5 separate regions of the Homo sapiens genome follow, and regions 1, 3, 4 and 5 are each linked to region 2. Evidence: promoter capture Hi-C in 16 types of primary human blood cells and fetal thymus (Javierre and others, 2016). All regions are on one chromosome and are shown on one strand. Each heading gives the region's core, a stretch centred on a gene start or on the middle of the fragment in contact. The rest is flanking DNA. Distances are from core to core; before and after follow the strand shown. Region 1 overlaps FECH (ferrochelatase). Region 2 holds the start of WDR7 (WD repeat domain 7). Region 3 overlaps ATP8B1-AS1 (ATP8B1 antisense RNA 1). Region 4 overlaps NARS1 (asparaginyl-tRNA synthetase 1). Region 5 holds the start of LINC01415 (long intergenic non-protein coding RNA 1415).

What was found. Contacts are between HindIII fragments. The CHiCAGO score rates a contact against its expected background, and 5 or more counts as called.
Region 1: a fragment that was not itself captured here is called in contact with the fragment with the promoter of WDR7 in region 2 in 7 of 17 cell types (naive CD4 T cells, total CD4 T cells, activated CD4 T cells and 4 more); the score reaches 9.5 in naive CD4 T cells.
Region 3: a fragment that was not itself captured here is called in contact with the fragment with the promoter of WDR7 in region 2 in 2 of 17 cell types (total CD8 T cells and naive CD4 T cells); the score reaches 7.2 in total CD8 T cells.
Region 4: a contact is called between a fragment that was not itself captured here and the fragment with the promoter of WDR7 in region 2, in 4 of 17 cell types (total CD8 T cells, total CD4 T cells, non-activated CD4 T cells and 1 more). The highest score is 8.1, in total CD8 T cells.
Region 5: a fragment that was not itself captured here is called in contact with the fragment with the promoter of WDR7 in region 2 in 2 of 17 cell types (monocytes and total B cells); the score reaches 7.4 in monocytes.

What each region holds. Positions count from the first base shown.
Region 1 is chr18:57,567,386-57,570,130 of GRCh38, forward strand. All of the region lies in intron 4 of FECH (ferrochelatase), which reads right to left. Among named protein-coding and RNA genes, the nearest start is that of FECH, 18 kb to the right of the region's middle. The HindIII fragment of the contact is 5,994 bases long and covers 1-2,745 here.
Region 2 is chr18:56,649,974-56,652,673 of GRCh38, forward strand. It overlaps WDR7 (WD repeat domain 7), which reads left to right and starts at 1,386. Exons shown (of 28, transcript NM_015285.3): 1 at 1,386-1,603. RefSeq lists an enhancer at 1,117-1,506. The HindIII fragment of the contact is 1,105 bases long and covers 514-1,618 here.
Region 3 is chr18:57,638,048-57,640,861 of GRCh38, forward strand. All of the region lies in intron 1 of ATP8B1-AS1 (ATP8B1 antisense RNA 1), which reads left to right. Among named protein-coding and RNA genes, the nearest start is that of ATP8B1-AS1, 9.1 kb to the left of the region's middle. The HindIII fragment of the contact is 5,643 bases long and covers 1-2,814 here.
Region 4 is chr18:57,601,831-57,604,530 of GRCh38, forward strand. It overlaps NARS1 (asparaginyl-tRNA synthetase 1), which reads right to left. Exons shown (of 14, transcript NM_004539.4): 12 at 982-1,113; 13 at 525-656. Among named protein-coding and RNA genes, the nearest start is that of FECH, 16 kb to the left of the region's middle. RefSeq lists an enhancer at 2,047-2,341. The HindIII fragment of the contact is 8,142 bases long and covers 1-2,700 here.
Region 5 is chr18:55,779,182-55,781,881 of GRCh38, forward strand. It overlaps LINC01415 (long intergenic non-protein coding RNA 1415), which reads right to left and starts at 2,544. Exons shown (of 2, transcript NR_145452.1): 1 at 1,774-2,544; 2 at 1-849. All of the region lies in intron 2 of LOC105372130 (a long non-coding RNA gene), which reads left to right. The HindIII fragment of the contact is 4,279 bases long and covers 1-2,700 here.

The DNA of each region.
Region 1 (2,745 bases), core at 39-2,538, 920 kb after region 2:
CTTCTATCTTCTTTATCCTCCCGCATCTTCCTTTCTTGTAGTTCAAAAACATCCACACCACATAATTGTTTAAGCATGTATAAAGTCATAAAACTACAAGTTTCCTAAACTTACTTAGTCTTGTTTCCTTGCCTTTTCATAGGATTACACATAACTTACACTCAGGGATGATAGTGAGAATCACTACATGAGTGTCAGGTAATAAATAATAAGACCATGATAATGTTACTGTCCAAAGCATTAGCAGGGGCTGCAACTATGAATGTGACATAAATTGCCACAAGAAACATTTAGGTTAAAGTGAAGGAAAAGACGGGAGTTTATCTCATTTATACCTAGATATATACAAGGACGACATTCCTCCTAACTTGACCCAGAGAGCTAAGAGCCAGGGGAACACATTCCCAAGGGAGAAGCAGAATGCCATTAGGCGAGAGAAGCACATGTGTGCACAGAAAGGCTGGTCGGACTCAGTATTCTCTGGTTGGGTACTGCAAAAAAGAAGAAGGAAGTAAAACTAGATCATTTTTAGCGCTCTGTCCATTTTCCGGCCACCAATTTCGTGCTGCCTTGCATAAAATGGTCACTAGCAGTTAAAACATATCACAGGACATGATCCCATAAGCAAACTCCAAATGACTGATTGTTCAAAGATTATGTGCTTTGTGCTAAAAACCGCCAACTATTACAATACCATCAAATCCCTTGAAGCAACTCTTGGTGATTTGAGCTGAGGTTTAGCAAGCAAGTAGAAACTGCTTTCGATTCTACTTTGAAACAATACGATGATCAGAATGACATCCCCAGTGCTGCAGGTCAACCGGCTTCTCGCATTTTCTTTTCACCTGTCCAGTATCTGAAGGTTACGGTCTAAATGCCTAGGGTCTGGGAGTTCCTCAAATCATGCATACTAAGAGGTAGAAAGGCTGCCCTTGCAGATAAAGACAAGGGCAGGTGGCCACATTTTAAAGTGAGACAGAGTAAAATACCCTGGAAAGAACTGATAATGTTTTCTAAATGCTTTCTAAAGACAACCTGTAAACACATATTGGAGAAAAAGCAGCAAGGTACTCTCCAACTGGGCATATCCTGAGGAACCAACAAACAGTGTTCATGAAGGACCCGTGTCCATCAGGGTGGGTTTCACAATGCAGCTGGCTGTCCCTGGAAGGATGCAGGGATGAGAAGGAGCCTCTCCGATGTTAACCAGTGCCACATCTCGTGGGCAGATCTGGCCAGAGTGAGCCCAAAACACATCACTCACTGGCCTAGCTTACGTACCCTCAGAGCAGCTGTTCAATGAACAGTCTTCAGCAAGAACTACTAAAAGACAGAGAAACTAGATTTTTAAACAGCAAAAACTTCATTAATTTAGCATGTACAATAGTTCAAATGTCCGATTTGTACATGATTTTTTGAAAGAAAAGTTTGAAATATGTAGCAAATGCTTACTTTGTATCAGATCATGAACCCTGTGCCAATGATGAATTAAAAAGCTCACGTATATTGAACTTTTGTCATGTTAATGCCTCTCAGGATTATCGCATTTAATTTTCACAAGGATCTAAGAGTTGAGTTCTGTTACCATCCCCATTTTCTAGCTGAGGCTTAGTTAAGTAAGTAAACTGCCTGAACCAGAGCAGGGAAGCCAACACCATCAGAGAAAGGAACCCATACGCCTATCCACGCTGCATCCGGGAAAGAACAGAATTATTTCATGAGCATCCCTTACTTATAGCTTCACTAAAAGCAGTTACAAGCTAAACAGTTAAACTATAATTTGCAAAGCATATTTGAGATTTAGACTTTCCATCACATGATTACACTTCTCATCTATTTCTGTATCTATTCTCTACATTTCTGCAATGCAATGTAACTACATGAAACCATTTCCTGATATAACTCACTGTCTTAGTTAACTGGTCAATTCTATGAAACCAGTGCAAGTCTCAAAACGTCCACACTGGCTACCAAGCAACAACCACTTCCCTAAAAAACGACAGCATGAAACATGTTTATCTGTTTGCAATCATCACATTTTCTGGCCTAAAGAGAATTTTTCTTAATAGAAATAAATCAATAGACATAGTTCAAAAGTAAACTTTACAACTATATAGGAAAGAAAGGATCAGAAGGGAAGAGGAATGAGAAGGAGATGAAGAGGTACCCCAGCAGCCTCACCGGAGACAGGAGGTGGCGGGAAGGATGCCCTCCTGTCTGTATTGCTTTTTCAAGTCTGACAACTCTACCAGGGCTTTAACTCCTGGGCTCAAGCAATCCTTCTGCTTCAGCCTCCCAAACTGCTGGGGTGTGCCCCACCCCCATGCTCACTAGGGCTCTTTATAATGATGGGTACTACAGTAACATAAAAACAGGAAAAATGGGAACCTTTCTGCCTCCTCTTCCCACGAGAGACAGCATAGCAATTGCAAATCTGGTTCATAATAAAACCTTTTTTTTTTTTTTGAGACAGGGTCTCACTTTGTTTCCCAGGCTGGAATGCAATGGCATGATCATGGCTCACTGCAGCTTCAACCTCCCTGGCTCAAGCGATCCTTCCACCTCAGCCTCACAAATAGCTGGGCCTACAGGCGTGTGCCACCATGTCTGACTAGTTGTTGTTGCTGTTGTTGTTGTTGTTGTTGTCGTGTGTGTGTGTGTGTGTGTGTGTGTGTGTGTGTGTGTGTGTGTGTAGACAGAGTTTCACCATGTTGCTCAGGCTGGTCTCAAACTCCTGGGCTCAAG
Region 2 (2,700 bases), core at 136-2,635:
GTGACTCCTTTCTTGTGCTCAGTAGAGAGATTCTCCTTGCTAGCTTTGAAGGAGTATGCTGCCATGTTGCGAGAGAGCCTTTAGTAAGGCCCATGTGGTAAGGAACTGTGGGTGGCTGCTAGGACCTGATGGCCACTTCCAGTTCAGAGCCAGTAAGAAGCCAGGGCCCCTAGTCAGACAGCCACAAGGAACTGAATGAGCTGACAGGAGTTTGGAATCAGATTCTTCCCTAGTTGAGCCTCCAGATGAGAATTGCAGTTTGGCTGACATCCACTTGTAGCCTTGTGAGAGCATGAGCACAGGACTCAGCTAACCTGTTCCTGACCTCCTTGCCCATGGAATGTGAGGCAATACATATGTGTTGCTTTAAGCCACTAAGACACTAAGACTGTGATAATTTGTTGTAAAGCAATTTTAAAAACCTGAATACCATGTGGTTAGGAAAAGTGCTACACTATTTATTAGTCAAAAGTCTTCAATTACTTTTCATTGTCTTTGGAATAAAGACCAAAAAGCTTATATGGCCACTAAAAGCCTCTTGTTATCTACATTATTCTATTTTTCCATGTTACTTTTTTATTACCTGGTCTAGGCCGAATGTGATGAAGTCTCTATCAACCCACAAGAGAGCTCCAGGGCATAGACTGCCTGTTAAAGGAGCCGCTCACGGAGCAGAAACAGCTAAGCCCTGATACCACATTTTCCCACTTCACCTACTTCACGTCCCTTGTATTTCTTCCAAATTTAACTTTCTATTTATTGCATATATTCATGTTTTACATTTCAATGCTGGTGACAAAGTTGTTTTCCTTTCCCAATTATTATTCCAAATCTGACCAATTTTTCTAGACTTCCATATGACCTAATGTGATTATCCTTCCTTACCCCAACCTAGAAATAATTCATCTCTTTTCTTCCTTGCTCCTTATTTGGCATTTCTCATCCTGCACTATACTATAGCTTATCTATCTTGGGGGACATTTGTCATTCTTTTTAGCTTTCCAGCATCCAACATACTTTCCAGTGTTTAGGGAATTCCCTACCTCTTGCATCTCAGTGGGAAGCAGTGTGATGGGGTCAGAAGTGTAAACTTGCGCAACATCCTGCTCCCAAGAAAGACGTGCACTTGCTACTTCATCCTTCGCTCCATCTTGGTCCTCCCAACTGGAGAGAGGACAGCCTAGACGAGACTTCCCACAACCAAGATGGCGGCCGTGCACTCCTTGCCCACAGCTGGCCTTTTCTCCACTTTCGGTCTCCATCGTAACGCGGCTGGCTCTCTCGGCGCCGGCTTAGGCCTTGCAAGTAGGGAAATGGTGAGTCTTTCCCGCCCCCTCATTTTTGCGACAGTTGCAGCGAAAGTCACGGCAGTTGGGGCTGGTGTCAGCTGATTTACTGCAGTGGCGGCGGCGGCGGCACCGGCACCTTGCAGTATCACTGGGGAGACGGCGGCTGTATAGCGCTTGCCGCCCCACGGATTATCCCAGCAGGATCTACGCACCCCGCATCCTCCGTAGTTCCGCCCTATCCTTGTCCTCCTTGGCTGGGGCGCCCACCGGCGGTCTGATAGGCTACATCGCGGCATGAGATGAAGCTGTGACAGGTAAGGGGGCTTTCAAGCTTCTCCATGGGAAACCACAGGGCGGGATGTTCCTGCACCGTGGAGGTCAGGGGTCAGGGGTCAAAGGTCACAAACCCGCTCTAGCCGGGGGCGGTGCTAGCTGTCAGATCGCTGCGGCTGCAAGCCTGCAGGTCGGGCCCAAAAGTAGGCGCCGTTACCAAGAGCGTGGGGGCCAGCCGGGGGTCTTTGTGGCTCCCTTGCCTGGTGAGTGATATTTGCTACTTGTGACAGTTGCTTTGGTCTTGAGGTGGGACTGCCTGGTTCCCAGGTGCAATCTAAACGGGATCAGGTGATTGGTGATGATCGTTGGTGGTTATTGACAGCAATTTTGGGCGATGTGCTTGCTTTTGGGGTTCATATAGTCTTTCCTTTCCTGTTGGTACTATTTTTGCCCATGCCCAAGGTACTGACACCACTGTTAGAATTTCATTTTTGAGATGCCATCTGCCAGTTCTTATCCCTTTGCCCTAGTACTTGTCTGAGCGGATGCCAGTCACTCCCATTCACTTAGTGATGGGTCCCAGCGTTCTGAAGCTATGTTTGAAGTCAGCACTACCCTAACTTTGATTCAAAAATTGCTGTTTTATGTTTTTTACCCACTTAGTATGTCACTTTTTGAGGCAGAATTTGCTGGGTTAGATAGTCTGAAACTAGGGAACCTACCGTCGCATGACAGGCTGCATTGATATTGTTGATGCTGCTGAATTTAGGGTTCGGTCAGTGGCAGCTATAGCTTCCTCTCACTGTAATATTTGCCATGAGACAAAAAAAGGCAAACTGACTCTTTCAGGTGTTTATGTCTTAGGATTTTATGGGCAAGGTTGCAGGAATTGCCTGTTGTATGAAAGAAATTAACTGAGTTTTTGACATTTTGTAAAACAAAAATTTTAGTTTGACTCTGCTTCTTGCTTTATAAACAAACTCGTGGCTGTATGAAGGTCAGCTTAAAAGTGAACATAATGTGTTGAAATGCCCTCATTATTACAAAGAATAAAAAACTGTCTAGTTCCATCCAGAACAATACATATTAGTTATTATAAATTGGGAAAACGAACCACTATAAATATAATTAATGCTTT
Region 3 (2,814 bases), core at 152-2,651, 990 kb after region 2:
CTGTATCTTCTCTGTTGAAGTATCTGTTCAGATCTTTTGTGAGGACAAGGTACGGGGTTCCAGGTAGGGATCCAAGTTCATTTTTTCGCATGTGGATATCAAATGTCCCGGCACCATTTATTGAGATGGCCATCCTTTCTCTACCTCATCGCTTTTGTAACCTTGTTCAATATCAGTTGTCCATTGATGTATGGATTTATTTATGGACTCTATTAGGTTCCATTGATCTATCTGCCCTCTTTAAGCCAATACTATGCTGTTTTGATTGCTATAGCTTTATAACAATTTTCTCTTTTTTGGCCCTAATTTCACATTTATTTTATTTTTAAAATTTTGACTTTTATTATAGACTAAAGGGTATATGTGCAGCTTTGTTGCATGGGTAAATCGCATGACTCTGAGGCTTGAGGTCCCAGCGATCCTGTCCCCCAGGCAGTCAGCATAGTACTTAACTAGTCGTTCTTCAGCCCATGCTGGTAACAACTTTCAAAATCAAGTAGTGTTCTTCCTCCAACTTTGTTTTTCTTCTGCAGAGTTATTTTGGCTATTTTAGGTCCTTTGCATTTCCAGATGAATTTTAGAATCAGCTTATCAATTTTTACCAAAAAAAGAATCTCATGGGATTTCAATTGGAATTGCATTGACTCTACACATCAATTTAATTGCCTCCTCTTGTTTCTTTTTTATATGAAAGGTTGTCCCCATACACACAGTTCTGCACCTGGCTCTTCACACTCCACAATGAATGGAGATCTTTCATTCTTCTCCCTTAGCTCCCATTATAGTTTCATTGTATCCTTTTGTTGGGATGGAACTTATTTCATTTAACTGTAGTGAAACTGATGGATTGCTAGCTTACTGCTGATATTTTGCTATTACAAACAGTGCTGCAGTATAATCACTGTACGTGTCATTTCCCTTGTGGGCAAATATATCTGCAGGATGAATTTGAGAAGTGTGATTGCCAGGTCAAAGGGAATATACATTTAACATTTTACTGGCAAGGGCCAGGTGCGGTGGCTCACGCCTGTAATCCCAGCATTTTGGGAGGCTGAGGCGAGCGGATCACAAGGTCAGGAGATTGAGACCATCCTGGCTAACACGGTGAAACCCCATCTCTACTAAAAAAATATACAAAAAATTAGCCGAGTGTGGTGGCACCCGCCTGTAGTCCCAGCTACTCGGGAGGCTGAGGCAGGAGAATAGCTTGAACCTGGGGGGCAGAGGTTGCAGTGAGCTGAGACTGCGCCACTGCACTCCAGCCTAGGTGACAGAGCTAAACTCCATCTCAAAAAAAAAAAATTAATGGTTATGGCTAAATCCTTTCCTAGAGTTTCATAATTTATATACTTTTCATTAATACATTAGAAGGCTTGTTTTGCCATAGCCTTAACAGTGCATTACCAAACTTTCTTGTTTTTGCCAAATTAATAGGTGAAGATGGCCTATCAAAATCATTTTGATTTTCACTTCTTTATTTCAGGTAAGTTTAAACATTGTTTCATGTGTTGAAGAGCCATTTGTATTTCTTTCTTTTTTTTTTTTTTTTTTTTGAGATGGAGTCTCGCTCTGTTGCCTGGGCTGGAGTGTAGTGGCGCAATCTCAGCTCACTGCAAGCTCCGCCTTCCGGGTTCACGCGATTCTCCTGCCTCAGCCTCCCGAGTAGCTGGGACTACAGGCACCCGCCACCACACCTTGACAGGGTTTCACCGTGTTAGCCAGGATGGTCTCGATTTCCTGACCTCGTGATCCGCCTGCCTCAGCCTCCCAAAGTGCTGGGATTACAGGCGTGAGCCACCGCGCCCAGCTGTATTTCTTTTTTTGAGACAGAGTCTGGCTCTGTTTCCCAGGCTGGAGTGCAGTGGTGCAATCTCAAATCACTGCAACCTCCGCCTCCTAGGTTCAAGTGATTCTCCTGCCTCAGCCTCCCTCGTAGCTGGCACTATAGTTATACACCCAGCTAATTTTTGTATTTTTAATGGAGACAGGGTTTCACCATGTTGGCCTGGCTGGTCTCAAACTCCTGGCCTCAAGTGATACGCCCACCCTGGCCTTCCAAAGTGCTGGGATTACAGGGATGAGCCACCGCACCCCGCCCCATTGTATTTCCTTTTTTCTGACTTTTTGTTTTCACAACCTTGGCTGCTATGGTCTGAAGGTTTGTGCCCCCTTAAAATTCATATGCTGAAATCCTAACCTCCAAGGTGATACTAGGAGGTGGAGACATTCAGAGGTGATTAAATCAGGAGGGATTATGTCTTTATAAAATAGTCCTGAAGGAGCTTGTTGGCCCCTTCCACCACGTAAAGACACAGTCAGAAGGCACCATTTGTGAACCAGAAAGCATTTCCTCAGTAGGCACCAAATCTGTCAGCCCCTTGACCTAAGAGTTCCTAGCTTCTGCCAGAACTGTGAGAAAAAATTTCTGTTGCTTATATAAACCACGCAGTTTGTGGTATTTTGTCATAGCAGCCTGAACTAAGACTCGCACACTTTTTCTCCATTTTGCCATCTTTGCTTATACCTTTTTTCTTTTTCTTTTTTTTTTTTTTGCCATAATGGAGGTTTTAAAAATATTTATGCATTTGAAATTACTAGCCTTTCCTTTGAGGCTTTAGATTTTTAGTCTTAATTAGAAAGTCTTTCCCCACTCCAGTATTTGAATTTCCTCGTGATTTTCTTCAAATACTTTGATGAGTTTTTTTTTCTTTTACATTGAAATCTCTTCATTATTTGGAGCCTATTCTACTACAGTGCATGATATCTAATTTGTTTCCCTGTTGTCTCAACACCAGTCCATCTTTCCCCCCACCC
Region 4 (2,700 bases), core at 124-2,623, 950 kb after region 2:
AACTTTCATCTAAGACAGTTAAAATTTTCCACCATGAAAGGAGTTAGCTCACTGTGGTTAAGAATTCAACTATGGCCAGATTCAGTGGCTCGTGCCTGTAATCCCAGCACTTAATCTCTATGCCTTCATGAACCATGCATAAAGAAATAATTTGGTATGAAAAAATCAACCAGGGAATAAGTACTACCCTGGAAAGAAGAGATTTTTAAAAACTTTTAAAATAAGTCAATGTCTATTTATAAGAGGAAAATGAAGAAGGGTACTAGATACTGGTAGGATCAATTTTTTAAAACTCAGTTGCAATCAACAAGCCGGCCGTTAAACAGGTTTTCAAATGAAATTAACATATAACTTGGCCAAAACAAAGCTGGCAATATTCACACACCACATTATAACCTGCAAACTGAATATAGCTCATTCAAATACCAAAGTACTACCCTGAATTCTCCCCTTTTAAAAATTTCAATATATACAGAACGATTACAGTGGAAAAAAATGTTGAGTACTTAAAAAATTGGTTTTACCTGATCCGTATACCAGTAATAGGGAGTGGGGTCAATCCCTTCCCTTTTATAACCTGCCAGTATTTCTTCACTATCAAAGATACGCATTGAGCCTCCCACAATCTCACCAACATTGGGCATCAACACGTCGACCTTTAAATATAAGTGAAAGAAGATACACAATTACTATCAAGCGATCAGACACAGCACTGCCCTAGAGTTTAAATGAAAATTACAATTAAGCTCCAAGGGCTAAAGGAGCCACTATGATCATGTAATATTCAAATGTTTACATTTCTCTAATTTAACAAAGCATGTCAACTTCAATCAGGGGAGGGTGAAAAAACCCAACGTCTTTAAATATTGTTATTCTAGATAGAGAATGAAATATTTGGCATGAGCTGTACCTGATTCCAGATGACAGTCCCCACCCCCTTAAAAAGCAAAATTATTAATACTCTTTGAAACAGAAACTGACAGATTCAGTAAGACGGGAATCCTCAGGACATCGCTGCATGTAGAAGGACTTGATCTCCACAGGAAATCGACACAGCAAGATTGGTTCATTAATGGTGTCTGTCATCAGTCTCTCAGGAGCTTCTGGGATATCCTGAGGTCAAACAAGACTTCATTAACATTTACAACTTGGATCGCAACAAGACAGAAGCAGCTCCTTCACCCTGTACCAGTCCTTCCTCCTATCAATTCAACAGAGTAGAGGATACACACCTACCCTTAACCCATACACATTTGTGTAAAGAATAATTTCTTTCAAAAAGAAATAAACATATTCTTAAAACTCAGTTATTTAATGAAGCATAAAAGATCTGTCTCCCTTTACAGCATATCTCAAGCACCATGCTGTTTGATGAAGGAAAATAAAAAAAAAAACAAAAACAAAAGCCAGCCCCAAGCTGTGACTAGACACAGCTCAGTATTTTTCTCAGTGGCCCGTTTTGTCTAGCTCTGAAGCAAATGAGGTCCACTTAGTCCCGTAAGGCATACGGTAATCATGAATGCTCCAGAACATCATTGATCTACACACAGAGTATATTACTAATGACACTTATCTTTAAACTCTCCTGTTATCTACCCTTCTTTCCTGTTGTAATCAATCAGTTATGCCTTCGATGACAGACACAATCATAAGACAAATAACCAATGTCAAACTGGTAAGTGTAAGCACACCTGGAATAGTTACCCAAACAATGTTAGATGATGACTTAAGCGCATCAGTTTCTCTCTCAAAACATCCTTCTATACCACACATAAATTAAAGTTAACACAGAAGTTAAAACTGACAACTCTCGTCCCAGTAAAAATGGATTGAGAGAACTGGAGAAGACTCATAGATTTGTTTAATGAAGAAGTGAAATGGAGGTAGCAATCACCTAGCACACCTGTTTTCAAGCTCCAGGCTCTGGAGCCCTTGCGTCCTCGGAGACGCCGAGAGGTAACAGGAGATGAGTGGGAGAGCTCTAGTCTCTCAGCTTGCATCTGCTTTACACAGCGGGGTTCTGCATAAGATTTAGTTAGGGGAAAACAGGTCTTATTTCATACCCCCCAAAGCCTGAGGGTCATGTATCCACTCTAGTGTCCTCATGTGTGTGGAACAGTAGCAATGTATAGTAAATGCTGACAGGCTCCCCCTGCCATTGTCCTGCCTAGGCATTTAGCTCCGGTAGTCCCCACAATCTTGCAAAACAGATGTTACTTCCAAGGTAGAGATAAGGAACCTGAGAGGGGGTCACTGGTCTTCAGTTACACAGCACAAAAGAAAAGAGGTGGGAGCTAAGCCCACCTGGGGGGCCTTCTGACTCCACAGCTTGTGTTCTTTCCACTCAACTACACTATTTTACTAAGTATTAGGAACACTAAAAGTATGCAAGTTCTCAATACAAAATTTTGTCATTATACATCATAAACTGAATTCATAGGCTGGGCACAGTGTGGCTCATGCCTATAATCTCAACACTCGGGAGGCCGAGGTGAGAGGACTGCTCGAGGCCAGGAGTTTGAGACCAGCCCAGTCAACACAGCAATACCTCCATCTCTTTAAAAAAAAAAAACCAAAAAACCAAACTGAATTCACAGAAACAAGAGTGCTTTACATAGACCCAGTATATTGTTTCACCTATTAATTCCTTCTAAAACCCAAAACTAGTTAGCAGCATCTACACACATTTCAACTGTAAAA
Region 5 (2,700 bases), core at 41-2,540, 870 kb before region 2:
TCAATTCAGTAATCTCCATTTAGTGTTAAAAAAAGAATGTCAAAAGGGTAGCTTGCAAGTAAGAATAAAAGAGGTTTTTCATGACCAGCTTTTCCCATTCTCTATTATCCCTCAGCGGCAGCTTTTGGTGTCTCTGGTACGAGGCAAGGTGTCGAGGGGGGCCATATTAACCCCCTGTGAATGCCTGGCCGATAATTAACATCTTGGGTCCAAGAACCGATACAATGAGCTGGGGGAACGGAATCTTTCTCAACCAGTAATAGGTAATTGAACGCTTTTGCTGATTTGATTATAAGGAATAACTCTCGGTGATCAAAACCAAAGCTGGGTTAAAATCCTAAAGCTGGGGGACAGCTGAAGCACCCACTTCACGACTTAACGTTTCAGGAATATGAATTCTATGTTCAGAAAATTTCCCCACACTCTTCTTCGCTGGCACATTCACTGATGTAGAAAATGCCAGGAGCCCCGGGGGTGTGATGTTTCCGGTGGATAATGTCTCCCGTTCCCTGCCCCGGGGCCCAGACAGTTGGTGCTTAAGCGTCTACAATGTAGAGTTTCCTGCATTTTCCTCGGGCCGCCATTTGTCTACTTGTCCCATCCAGGACATCTCCCTAAATAATCTCTAAGTGGAAAAATCACGGTCCTCTAGGAGATTTATCCGGGAACGAACGTGCGTGGGGCAGTTCAAATTCCTGAGCTCAGATTTCGTTTCCCGCGGTCAGATGGTGCGGTCGGTGGGGCCCGAGGGATGCGCACAGCTGTGCCTGAGAGGTGCTGCTCTCCCGCCACCGAAGTCGCTGGGAAATTCTGCTGCACTGAGACATTTTAATGTCGGATGTTCTAATCCTGCGGGCAAAAAAAAAAAAAAAGTTTGAACCAGGTACTGGGCTTTTGTCACGGTGAACCCCACCCGCGCCCCGCGCCGTCCCTTCATTCACTCAGGCGAGGTGGCTTGGATTTGCACCTCGTTGAAGAAGCCTCCCATGCGACATCTCCGCCAGCACCCCGCGCGGACTTGGCTGGGCGGCGGCGGGGAGTCAGCTTGTCACCGCACGGCGGCCGGGACCGCAGCCCCTGGGTGCGCAGTGCGCCTCTCGCTGCGCCCTCCTAGAGCGCGGGTCCCGTGCCTGTGCCCGGCGCGACGCGATCTCCCTGCTAGTCGGGCTCCGCGTGCTCCCCGCGCTTCCCGCAGCCTCCGCGCAGCCCGCAGCGCCCTCCAGCCCCGCCTCGCGGCCGCGGGAACCCGGCGCCTGCAGCCCCGCCCGGAACCGACCGCCAGGCGCTGTTGCCGCCGGCCACGCAACGCGGGGCCTCTGCCTGGCACCAGCCCCAGGTGCCTTGTCTCGGGTCGTGCTGTCGCGCGACACTGGGGACCCAACAGGCCGCCGGCTACTCAGCTGGCCCCGCAGCTTCCCTGCGGCTCAGCGGCCTCCCACCCAGGAGAAAACCACATTTGATGAGAGTTTTGAATCAAGCCGAGCGTTCCCCCAGATGTTCAGCTACCTCAATTTCTAATGATTCCACAATCCCTTGTGATTCATCTCTTTCCTCCTAAGGGTTGCCAATGGCTCAAAGTTTAGACTTGGGATATAAAAAACGCTATTCACAGCCTTATTAGGAGGAGTAGGTGGGGAAGGGGAACTGGATACTGAATGGATTTTTTAATCTACGGAGAAAAATCACTCAACTGAGACCCGGCCTCTTTAATTTTCCTTTCTGAATCTCAGTGACTTCCTCTATAAAATAAAATGCAAAACAATGATATCTCACCTGCGTCAGAAAGTTGGTCACATGGTCTCATGAAGTCTCTTTCAAGGCTAAGATCTCTATGATTTTGTGATCAGTAGATTGAAATTTAAGATTAGAAACAGGTTATTTCTTGAAAGCAGTAAATGGAGGGCATTATGTGTGAATCAAGTACCAGAAGCAGGGGGTCTTTGTCTCTCCCTCTCCCCAGATGGGGCAGGGTCTCCACACTCTGAAATGTTAGTGTCAGTAACACATAATCAGGAAGTCGAATATGCGGATTATCTAGTCCTTTAGGATTCTTTGCACCATTGATTCTTTCCACTAATATTGATAACCCAAAGTTAATGACATATTGTGAGTTTCTCTTCTTTGCCTTCATGTTTTCAATCCTGGAGACAGAAAAAGGAACTAATTCTCTTCTTTTAAAACAAAAACAAAAACAGAAAAAATCAATCCCATTGATCAATGTGGAAAACCAAAGACCCAAGACTCCCCTGTGCCAAATCCCTCCCATGACCCTCCACTGTGATTCAAATTGGAGTGTTCTGGAAAATGCCGGTTCGAATTGCAAGGAGGCAGAATCAATCTCTCTCTCTCTCTTCAAAGGAGACACAGGCTCTTCTCAGGGACATTCCCTTATGTCTTTTTGATGCAGGAGGTTTAAGAGTCTCCATCTTAAAGCCCGCTGAGTTGGCTGAATGCTGACTTTAGGTGCCCACTATGAGCAGTGTAGTGCCCAGTCCTCAGAAAGAATCTAGAGTATTTTTACAGAACGAATTGCCTTTGTTTACCTTTCTGAATCATTTCATGCATGTTGTTGTTTTTGACCCACCCTTTTGCTAGGATACAAGAGCCAACCTTCTGTAAGAGGGGGAGAAAAAGAAGGAAGATGTGTGAGCTCCCCCTGGTGCTTTCCCGCATTCAGGCCAACTGAAAGGAGCTGCAAGG